Regions from separate parts of the Homo sapiens genome. Here region 1 is linked to region 2. Evidence: promoter capture Hi-C in 16 types of primary human blood cells and fetal thymus (Javierre and others, 2016). All regions are on one chromosome and are shown on one strand. Each heading gives the region's core, a stretch centred on a gene start or on the middle of the fragment in contact. The rest is flanking DNA. Distances are from core to core; before and after follow the strand shown. Region 1 holds the start of SCT (secretin). Region 2 holds the start of CEND1 (cell cycle exit and neuronal differentiation 1).

Evidence for each region. Contacts are between HindIII fragments. The CHiCAGO score rates a contact against its expected background, and 5 or more counts as called.
Region 1: a contact is called between the fragment with the promoter of SCT here and the fragment with the promoter of CEND1 in region 2, in 2 of 17 cell types (monocytes and neutrophils). The highest score is 5.8, in monocytes.

What each region holds. Positions count from the first base shown.
Region 1 is chr11:625,931-628,630 of GRCh38, reverse strand. SCT (secretin) reads left to right here and starts at 1,450. Exons shown (of 4, transcript NM_021920.4): 1 at 1,450-1,558; 2 at 1,642-1,743; 3 at 1,842-1,934; 4 at 2,101-2,322. The coding sequence starts at 1,488. The coding sequence ends at 2,200. RefSeq lists a silencer at 1,528-1,822 and an enhancer at 1,416-1,916. The HindIII fragment of the contact is 5,281 bases long and covers 1-2,700 here.
Region 2 is chr11:788,761-791,460 of GRCh38, reverse strand. It overlaps CEND1 (cell cycle exit and neuronal differentiation 1), which reads left to right and starts at 1,371. Exons shown (of 2, transcript NM_016564.4): 1 at 1,371-1,431. It overlaps SLC25A22 (solute carrier family 25 member 22), which reads left to right. Exons shown (of 10, transcript NM_001191061.2): 10 at 1-986. RefSeq lists a silencer at 1,231-1,460. The HindIII fragment of the contact is 25,064 bases long and covers 1-2,700 here.

The DNA of each region.
Region 1 (2,700 bases), core at 201-2,700, 160 kb after region 2:
TCGCACCCACCGGCATCGTTAGTACGCGACAAACAAAAAGCCACAAAGTAGCAAGTGTTGGCGAGGACAAGAACCGTGTCCCTGCTGCGCTGCTGGGAAGACAGTTTGGCGTTTCCTCAGAATATTTAACACATAATTACTCTGTCACCCAGCAATTCCCTCATAACTATACACCAAGAACGCTTGAAAACGGGATCGGGAAGCGCCGTTTGCACACCCACGTTCACAGCAGCGTTACTCGCCGTCGCCCCAAAGGGGAGGCAGCCCAGGTGTCCATCAAGATGCCCACAGATGAGCGGACGCGGTCGATGCGGTCCCTGCACACAGCGGGACACAGTTCCCCACAAAAGGGAAGGAGATTCCCACACAGGCCAGGCCGCGGCGGCGAAGGCGGAGGATGCTGCGCTGAGAATCCAGCCGGTCTCCAAAGGACAAATCCCGTGAGGCTCCCCCTGCGCGCAGTCCCTGGAAGCGCTGAATCCACAGACAGAAAGTGGACGGGGCGCCGGGGCTGAGGAGGGGAGGGGGCGTTTGATGGGGACAGAGCTTCATTCTGGGAGGACAGGAGAGTCTGAGAACGGATTTTGGGAGGACGGGAGCGTCTGTGAACGGATTTTGGGAGGACGGGAGCGTCTGTGAACGGATTTTGGGAGGACGGGAGCGTCTGTGAACAGATTTTGAGAGGACGGGAGAGTCTGAGAACGGATTTTGGGAGGACGGAAGAGTCTGAGAATGGATTTTTGGAGGACGGAAGAGTCTGAGAACGGATTTTGGGAGGACGGGAGCGTCTGTGAACGATTTTGGGAGGACGGGAGCGTCTGTGAACGATTTTGGGAGGACGGGAGCGTCTGTGAACGATTTTGGGAGGACGGGAGCGTCTGTGAACGGATTTTGGGAGGACGGGAGCGTCTGTGAACGGATTTTGGGAGGACGGGAGCGTCTGTGAACGGATTTTGGGAGGACGGGAAAGTCTGAGAACGGATGGTGGGGATGGATGCACCGAATGATCCTGAATCGCGCACTTCAAAGCAGATAAAATGGCAACACCGGCCCCCCAACAGTCACGCCACGCTGAAGCTGGAGACGAACTCGCCCCAGCAAGGTGCTCCAGGGGCCTCCGGAACTCCGGCCGCAGCCCCTTCCCCGGGGCCCCCCAGTCCCCCCCCAAACCCTCCCCCAAGCCCTCCGGCCCCTCCGCCCCCGCAGGCTCCGAGGCTTCGCGGTGCGGTTCCCTCTGCGGGTCCCAGGCCCGCGCTCCGTTCGCCCCCCAGGCCGGGACGTCCCCCTCCCCCAGCCGGCCGAGGGGCGCCAGCGCGGCGGAGGGGGCGGGAGGCCGGGCCGGGGCGACAGCTGGGGGGGCGGCCCTGACCTTCCCGGGATCGCTGGGCGCGGCCGGGCCGTCCCCTTTCCGGGCGCCGCCATAAAGGGGCCTTGCGGGGGCCCGGGGCCGTGGCCGCAGCGCTCAGCTCCTGCGCCCCGACCCCGCCATGGCCCCCCGGCCCCTCCTGCTGCTGCTGCTGCTCCTCGGGGGCTCCGCCGCGCGCCCCGCGCCCCCCAGGTGAGCCGCCCGCCAGGCCCGCCCGCCCCCCGGGCCCCACCCGCCCCCAGTGCGCCCTGACCCCGACCCCCGACCGCCCGCAGGGCCCGGCGACACTCAGACGGGACGTTCACCAGCGAGCTCAGCCGCCTGCGGGAGGGCGCGCGGCTCCAGCGGCTGCTACAGGGCCTGGTGGGGAAGCGCAGGTGAGGCCGGGTGGGGTGGGGGGTCCTGGCGTGGTGCCCCAGCAGCAACGCGCGACCCCCCAGCTCCAGGACTAACTCTGTTTTGGGGCGGGGGGCAGCGAGCAGGACGCAGAGAACAGCATGGCCTGGACCAGGCTCAGCGCGGGTCTGCTCTGCCCGTCAGGGTCCAACATGCCCATCCTGCAGGCCTGGTGAGCACCCGCCCCACCGCAGACCCCACTCCAGACCCCACCCCAGACCCCTCCTTCTGTCCTGGCCTCCCCGGGTCAGCGCTGGTGGCCACTGGAGGCCCAATTCCAGCAGCGGGGCCGGGGTCTCCAGCCCCAGCCCTCAGACCCTCACGTGCTGTCTCTGCAGGATGCCCCTGGACGGGACCTGGTCTCCCTGGCTGCCCCCTGGGCCTATGGTTTCAGAACCAGCTGGCGCTGCTGCAGAAGGAACCTTGCGGCCCAGATGAGGAAGGAACCCCCTCACCACCTGCCCGGCCCAGGAGCGCAGCTGCATTTGGGGTGGGGGGCAGGATGGGGGAGAGGGGGAGGGGTGGTACTTGGCACCAATAAAGGAGGAATCAGACCCAGACGCTGGGAGTTGTCTGTGTCCACTCAGTGTAATCGAGGCAACCCCTGTGTAGCGGGGCTGAGGGATGGATGGAGGCCCATCCACCCAGGAGGGACTGACCACACCCAGCTGCCCTTTACACCTGCAGGCACGGCGGCCCCTCATCCTTATCTCTGGCATCAGGGCCACCTCCTGTACCTCGACTAAGTACTGCAGGGCCCCGCCCCACCCCTTGTCATCCATTAGGAAACATTCTGGGGCTCGGGGGATCCCGGACACCCTCTCAGCTCCTGCCCGGGGGCCCATGTGGTCAGTGTTTCTGTAAGGGGTAGTGGGGAGGGTGTGAAGGGGCCAGGGGGGCTCAGGCGGGCAGGAAGAGGGGAGGGTGGAGGTGTCACC
Region 2 (2,700 bases), core at 122-2,621:
TCCTTCCCCAGCCGCTCTTGTCGCCTTGGCAGGACTTGACTCTGCCTCCCTGGCCAGCCTTGCAAGAGGACTGGGGTCTCCTGCCCTCTCTGTTGAGCCAGGAATCCCAAGTGAGGGGTTGCCCTGAGGTCTGACTCTTGGGGCAAGCCCGCCACCCACTGTGGGACTTTCTGGTGGGCTCCTCAGCTCCCACCCCAGGCTGGGGCCCAGATTGTGAGGTCTGTGTGCATGTGTGTGTGTATGTGTGTGTGCATGCGTGTGTGTGTTGTGGGGATCTGGCCTGGCCCTTGGGGATGGGGCTGCTGGGGACTGCCCCCCTTCCCGCCGTGGCCAGGCGCTCTGTGTGCTGTGTGTGCCCCAGGCTCTGTTGACCCCGTCCAGGAACTAACTTACCCAGCTTGGTCTCTCCTGAGTCCTCCACCCTGGCCTGGGATTGGCCAGGGAGCAGGGCGGGCATTGGGACCAGTGTGGAGCCTGAGGGTGCCTGCCCTGCTCTGGAGGGAGGGCCAGGAGCTGCCACACCCCCAAGTCCTCTCAGGGCCCACCCTCCTTTTTCAGCCTCTGCATAAGGCCCCTGGGTACACTGCAGAAGCCCCATCCTTCCCGCCTCCGGGCATAAGGCCCCTGACCACACTTCAGAAGCCCCATCCCCCCTGCCACCGGGCGATCCCTGCTGTGAGCCGAAGCTCTCCCTGCCCCGCCCTGGCCATGTGATCGTGTTGGTGACAGACCCTGATGTGCTGGTGCTGTGTCCCCAAAACCGGGGCCCTCCACAGAGGCCCCTTCCCAGCGACACTACCTGGGGCTCAGGCCTGGACCCCCCCAGTTCACGGTTGCTCCTGGGAGCTGCCCCTCCCGTCACATCAGAACCTTGGAAGCTGCTGCTGCTGCTTACAGAATTATATTTTTTTCTTTTGAAGAGTTTTAAGAAGTTGTAACTTTTTGTGTCTTGTCATGTCAGAGAATAAATAAATATTCTAAGTAGATGCTGCTGTCTGTCTGGGGGTCTGTTTGGGGGCGGGGGAGGGCAGTCCCCTCTTCCCATAACTGGCTCCCTTCAGACTGCAGGGCTAGGCCTGCGCACCCACCCACCGACCCCTCACCCACCGACCCGTCACCCACCGACCAAGGGGCACCCTGGCCTAGAGGGGATGCTGAGCGGGACCCGCCTCCTGCCTCTGGCAGTCCCAGATGGGACTTGGACCCCGCAGTTGCTCTCTCGGACCCTAAGTTTCTACCCCTGGATCTAAGGCGGAGCTGGGTTTGCGGATCCCACGGTTCCCGGCGGGGCGGGGCCCGGTCGCCCCTCCCCCTCCCCGCCCTCCTGCGCCGGGAGCAGTGCATTGTGGGAAACTCCCGAGCTCTCCTCCGCGTTCGCAGCCGCCGTCATCCCGCGGAGGAGCGCGCAGCCCCGGGGAGGCCGGAGGACGCGTAAGGCGGGGGGCTCCCGGCGGGCGGGGCGGGCGGGGCGGGCGCGGCGTCCTGCGGGGCGAGGAGGCGGCTCCGGGCCTTGAAGGTCACTGGGTTTGCGCGCGGGCCCCCCAGTTCTCCAGGGCTCAGTTGATCCCGGGAGAGGGAGGCGGCGGCCGGGATGTAAGTGCCACAAATAGCGAGGTTGGGGGGGCAGACCACCTGCTCTTTGCAAACTTGATGCCCAGCAGCTGAGCCCCCCGAGAACTGCAGGGGTGAAGGGACGGCTGGGCTTCCCTGGGAGGTGGCAGCAGCTGGGCCTCTTCTGGAGACGCCCTCATCATGCTGTGACCTTCGGGTGACCTTCAGTGTGGTCAATGCACCTGGCGGGGGGTGGGGAACGTGCCTCCCTTTCTCTGCAGGTCTGGAGGGCATTTCTCATCCTTCCCTGGGAGAGGCAGACAGGCGGCCTCTGGGGCTTTGGGGCAAGACCCACTCAGGTTCAGGGCGGCTGGGCCCCCAGGGCCCTTCCCACCTCTGCCTCGGTCATTGAGAATCTGGGCACCGCCTTTCCCACAGCCCAGAACCCTGTCCTCCGCCCTGACCCGCGGGCCAAGTGCAGCATGTGCCCACCCTGTTTAACGCCAGGAACCCTCTGCCCACAGAGACAGCACAGCCTTGGGCTGGGCGAGGACTCCCTGCTCCAGGGCTGGAGGCAGGCACGGCCCATGCTGAGGAGGGGGCCCCAGAGGCTGGGGAGGGGCAGACGGCCCTTGGAAGCACAGCCCCACGCTGACTTCCTGGAGAGACACCCCAGTTTTCTCAAGTCTGGGTTCTTGTGGGCCCACCCACCCTGATGGCTGCCTGAGATCCCAGCTCCTGCCCCTCCCCGCCCTCCTCCCCCTGGGACCCTGGCCAGGTCACAGCCTCCGTGCTTTAGTGTCCATCTCTGCAAAGCAGGAATGCTCTCCTGAGGAGGGGATGCAGTCAGCTCTCCCACTGGGGCTCCGATCACCTCCTTGGAGGGGAGAATGCTCTTCCTTCGAGTTCTCTGGGCCTGATCCTTACTTCCCCACCAAGAGCCTCCTGCCCCCGGCTGGTGGGAGGATGTGGCATTTGCATGGGCCATTTTATGGAGCACAGTGGGGTCCCCTACCTCCTCCCACCTGTGCGTGGCCCTTGCCTCTGCGGCTGGAGGGGCCCCTTGAGGAGTGGTCATGGACAGATGGAGTCCAGGCCGTGAAAGAGAAGTGTCAGAGGCCCACGGGAGGCCCCTGAGCTGGGGCTCCA